Linked DNA regions of Homo sapiens: region 2 is linked to region 1. Evidence: promoter capture Hi-C in 16 types of primary human blood cells and fetal thymus (Javierre and others, 2016). All regions are on one chromosome and are shown on one strand. Each heading gives the region's core, a stretch centred on a gene start or on the middle of the fragment in contact. The rest is flanking DNA. Distances are from core to core; before and after follow the strand shown.

Region 1 (2,708 bases), core at 16-2,515:
CCCGTCACTAATCTTTTATATCCTAAGATATATCTCTAGTGCGCTGTATCATCTTCTGAAAATACAGCTCTAATCAGCTTCCTCATAACTGGAAAAGCATTTAATGGCGCCGAGCTTGTGTAAGCTCTTCAGGATAATATCCTTTAAGCTTAAGCCTCATCTTTCCAGGTTTCTCCTTCATCACATGATCTCCATACATTCTACATTTCAGTACTAAAAGTATGGAAATTCTTGAAATAGTTCATGCACTTTCATGTCTCTGCTTTTGGCTAGTATTCCTTTTGCCTGGAATACTCTTGTTGGGTCACATGAAGTCCTATTTATTCTTTTCTACTTAGTTCAAATGCTACAGCAGCCATGCATTCAACTAACATTTAGCTACCTACAGTGCCTAAAGTATGTCAGGCACTGGAGATACTAAACAATGAACAGTGACATATTAAAATAACAGAATATCTGTTCAGCTATTAAGATGAATAAGGTGGAGTTACACAACACTGACAAATCTCAAAAACATTATGTAAAACAAGCTAGCTGCAAAAAGATGTACACATTACAGATTGCATAAAGGTGGTTAGGAGAGTGGTTTCCTTAGGCAAAAGGAAAGAGAATGAGACGGGGTAGAGCTGACAAAGGACTTCAATCACTTATATAATCATTTATTTCTCCAATTCAGTGGTGAGTACACATGTGTTATAGTTTTGTTTCTACCTTTTTTCTGTCTAAAATCGTCTATTTAAAAAAAGCATCTTTAAGGCTGGATACCTTCCTGAAGGCACTGGAAATCTGTCATACTGCCACTAACTTAAAATTACCTTCCACCTCTTGCATTTCCCTTTGTTTCCTGTTTTGACATTGCGCACACATTAGTTAGTACACTAGGCCTTAAGAGTGGAAACTGCCAGGTACCAGCTTTAGCTAGATTAAAACATGACCCTCTTCCCAGGAGACTCCTGACCGGTTTTCTCGTCCTCCAGGGACCCAGCTAGGATTTCAATGAACTTTGGCCTGAACCCCTCGGCCGACCCTAGAATAATCGCCCTTCAGGCCCGGATTGCTTCTGCTCTCACCTTCCCTCAATTCATACGGGGGGCAAAACCAGACTGTATTTCCCGCAACGAACCCTGGAATGCTTCGCTTTAGCGGACTCCGGTCCACTCCCATCAGAGGATGCCCTTCTTTCGCCTCACCTCCAGCCCAGCCGCAGCGACCCGGCCGGGCCCAGCGCTGCAAGCCTCAGGTCTCTCCAGCAGAGCTGCGCCTCTGCTCTCCCCACACTTCCCTCCGCAACACCACTTCCGGCCTACCTCACAAATTCCCCATTCCAGCCGAAAAGAACTGGATCGGCCCTCTGCGCATGCGTGAGACCGGGGCGGTGTCCGGGGGTGCCGGGAGCGGGCGGTGCAGGCTCCACTTTTCCACTTCCCTACGCTCTGTCGGCAGTCTCGCGGGATTTCCGCCTCTCGCGGGAGTTATTTGAATGCCAGGGCGGTAACGACTCCCTAGGCGCCTGGGGCCCTCTGACAAGAAACCCTAGGAGACACCGCGGAGAACTCTGCCTCTGAGCTGGTGGGCGGGCCGGATGTAGCCGAGCGCGGACAGGGCTAGTCCGGACAGAGTCCCAGAGCCATGGGAGCGAAAAGAGACTGCTGCGGATTAAGGAGGCCTTTCGGTTGGCGCAGCAGCCACACCACAACCAGGCGAAGCAGGTAGTGGCGCTGAATCGCTCCTGCCGCGGGGTAAGCGCTCCCGGCCCGCGCCCGCCCCAGCCCCGACCTGGCGGGGCCAGGACGCTGGTTCATACACTCCAAGGTGATTTTCATAGTCTTTGTGGAAGAATTAGAGAATTTTGAACTTTGATATCATTGCACGTGTTTACTTATTTAGAGAATCGCATTGTGTTTAATAATCATAGTATTCCTGTGCGACTCTTTAGGTTAGCAGATCATTGATTTTTAACATAAAACTGCATTTCATTAAATAGATTTAAATATGTATGTATATTTCTGTCCTCTAATGATTGTAACAAAGCAGATTTCTTGATCATTAACAAGATAGGTTCGTGCAAATAAGTGCATCTTTGTCACAAACCAAATTTTTTTGTGGTTGAGATATATATTTATATATATATGTGAAACAAAAAACATATAAAGGAGAATATATATATATTCTTATATATATAATATATACTGCTTTATTTTTTTGGGTTGACATATATATGTCATATATAGTTTTTTTTTAAATTCTACCTTAAACAGGGAAACATGTTAGATACAGGAGCTTGAATTTCAACTCTGAAACTTAATGCGACTTTATCAGCATTTCTCTTTCTCAAGCTACTTACTTCTTGTAGGATTACACAGTCAAATTTTTAAAAATTTTTGATTCTCCAACTGGATTTTTTTTTTTAATTTTTGAGACGGAGTCTCACTCTCTCGCCCAGGCTGGAGTGCAGTGGCGCAGCCTCGGCTCACTGCAACCTCAGCCTCCTGGTTCAAGCGATTCCCCTGCCACAACCTCCCGAGTAGCTGGGATTACAGGCGACCGCCACCATGCCAGGCTAATTTTTGTATTTTTCAAAAATACAAAGACGGGGTTTCACCATTTTGGCCAGGCTGGTCTCGAACTCCTGACCTCAGGTGATCCACCCACTTGGGCCTCCCAAAGTGCTGGGATTACAGGGGTGAGCCACTGCACCCAGCCTCTCC
Region 2 (2,700 bases), core at 174-2,673, 270 kb after region 1:
GGGGTTTGCGCTCCTGTGAGAATATAATGTTGTTGCTGATCTGACAGGTGGTGAAGCTCAGGTGGTAATGTGAGTGATGGGGAGCAGCTGTAAATACAGATGAAGCTTCACTGACTCGCCTGCCACTCACCTCCTGCTGTGCTACCCCATTCCTAATGGGCCTTGCACCAGTACCGGTGCGTGGTTCAGGGACTGGGGACTCCTGCTCTAGAAGATAGAAAAGGCAAGGAAACAGCTTTTCCCCCAGAGCATCCAAGAGGAATGTAGCCCTGGAAGCCCACCTGAGACTTCTGACTTTCAGAACCATAAGATGGTAACTGCTCCACCAGGTTTGTGATAATTTGTTATAGCCGTTATAGAAAATTACTATACCAGGGGAAGCCAGGAGACCCTGCCAGGGCTGTAGGCAACAAAAAGAATAGGGGTGTCCGGGTTGGTTTAGACAGTGATTTCTGAAGCCAGCATACCTGGGTTTGAAGCCCAGCTCCACCTCCTACTAACCACTTTCACATTGGGTGGGCAGAGCACATTGAGACCATGGGCTGTCAGACTCCATAGCTCACTGTCTCCTCTAGGAATGCAGGCTGACTAGGCTGCCAGAGACCCTCCTGGTGATTCTGCACAATGGTGTGTTTTAAAGAGATCCAACAGCATCTCTCTAGGTTCATAGTTTCTGATCATGGCTGTGCATGTGCACAGTGGTTTTTTTTTAATATTTCATAATGAAAAGCATGAATAGTGAAAATAAGTCTTCCTTGCACATTCATCTTTCATCTCGTTTGTCTTTCCTGTGAAAATCATTGTCATCTTCAGAAAATGATGTTCTCTTTATGCCTCAGTGTGCCTTCCAGAAAATGGGAAAAAGTTAGTATATGTTTAGGATATTTAAGAACACTGGCACATTGTAAGTGCTCAATAAATGTAAATGGTTATTAATATAATAAGTTCTTATTGGAATGAATTTGCTGACTCCTTGCAATAATGGAAGTTAGTATGCACGTACATTTCCACAGTGAGAGTCTCTTTCAGTAGGGGGCCAGTGGCAGTTTCTTTTCCTTCCTGTTCGCGTGTGAAACAGGAAATGCAATTTGGATGACAGGCACTGCTGCTTTTCAAAACTCTGTTTTGTTTCTGGGTTGTAACTCGAAATTGATGTTGATATTGTAGCAGCCAAATAAAGTGGTGCCCTTTGACCTTGTTGCAATTCTGTATGTCTCTGGTAGATTACAGGCTGCCTTCGTGCTGCTTTGCAAAAGATTTGTTCCCCTAATAGTTCTGAAAACCAGAGAGAAAGCATATTCACGTGAAATCCTGGTGATTTTTCTAAGTTCACCTAGTTAGTTTAATACCATAATCTAATGTAATTTCATATCTCTAAAACTGAAGGCTAGCCAATTGTGTGAATCTAGCCTAAGAAATAATTATGAATTCAATAAAAATGTTCACATACAAAGATGTTTATTGCAGCACTGTGAAAACCAGAAAAAATTGGAATAAACCAAAATGTCATGTAATAGTAGAGTTGTTAAATATATTGTGGGTTAGTCACTTAGTGGAATATTATGCAGTTAGTTGAAAAGGTAGTTATAATGCCTTTTCCATCATAAGGAAAATATTCACAATATACTGTTAAGAGAAACATTGAGAGTCAAAATTGTGTTCAATATGATTATAATGCTTGTAATGATAAAGCTCACACGTTAACAGCCTGGCAGAAAATATACCAAAATGCTGGTATCCATTGTGAAAGTGGTGGAATTATGAACTGTTTTTTTCCTACTTTCTATTTCCCATATATTTAGTAACATAATTATTTACATCTCTAAGAAAAAAAATTAAATGCAAACATAAAGCAATAAGCCAAAGCTCCAAAATAGTGTGGAAGATGTCTAAGAAAATTATGACTGCACACATTTATAATTCTAAATTAAAATGCCTCAGGAGTTCTAGTTTCCTGGATTAGTGCTAACGGCAGGAAGGCTGGGGTGAGAAATTTTGGCCATTAGCACTTCATGGGGTATGTAGAAACTGTTTTAGCACATACACTTTCTGGCTTTAAGTCAACTGACTTGGTTTTATGAGACAAAGAAGAGTTTTGCTTTCCCAGATAATTCAATTGTGATCATTTCAATAACCTTCATTCCAGCACAAGGACAATGGAGAAAAAAAGAGTCATCATATTTATGATTTACTGAAGGTTCCCTATGTGCCAAACTGTGTGTGGAATGCTTTATATGTATTGTCCTATTTCAGCCTAACAACTCTGGTAAGTGGGTCCTATTATACAGATTTCATAGATGAGATGCTCACTAAAGTGAGCACACCAAGCCCAGGGTGTCTCATTGGGTGGGCAGAGCACGTTCAGACCCTGGGCCGTCGGACTCCACAATTCACTGTCTCCTCCAGGAGCTCAGCCTGACTAGACTGCCCGAGACCCTCCTGGTGATTCTGCACAATGCTCTGTTTTTAAGAGATCCAACAGCATCTCACTAGATTCATAGGTTCTGACCATGGCTATGCATGTACACAATGGTTTTTAAAAATTTCATAATGAAAAGCATGAATAGTGAAAATAAGTCTTTCTTCCACATTCATCTTTCATCCCCAGTTTGTCTTTCCTGAGAAAACCATTGTAAATAAGGAGCACTAAATAAATACAGATAGATACAGAGGCCCATTCGCAAGCTGCAATCACTTAGA

The links. Contacts are between HindIII fragments. The CHiCAGO score rates a contact against its expected background, and 5 or more counts as called.
Region 2: a contact is called between a fragment that was not itself captured here and the fragment with the promoter of FAM200B in region 1, in 1 of 17 cell types (naive B cells). The highest score is 5.7, in naive B cells.

What each region holds. Positions count from the first base shown.
Region 1 is chr4:15,680,384-15,683,091 of GRCh38, reverse strand. It overlaps FAM200B (family with sequence similarity 200 member B), which reads right to left and starts at 1,265. Exons shown (of 2, transcript NM_001145191.2): 1 at 1,191-1,265. It also overlaps a transcript of FBXL5 not described here. RefSeq lists enhancers at 996-1,045, 1,056-1,295, 1,466-1,765. The HindIII fragment of the contact is 4,207 bases long and covers 151-2,708 here.
Region 2 is chr4:15,409,369-15,412,068 of GRCh38, reverse strand. All of the region lies in intron 1 of C1QTNF7-AS1 (C1QTNF7 antisense RNA 1), which reads left to right. It also overlaps a transcript of C1QTNF7 not described here. Among named protein-coding and RNA genes, the nearest start is that of C1QTNF7-AS1, 17 kb to the left of the region's middle. The HindIII fragment of the contact is 2,631 bases long and covers 108-2,700 here.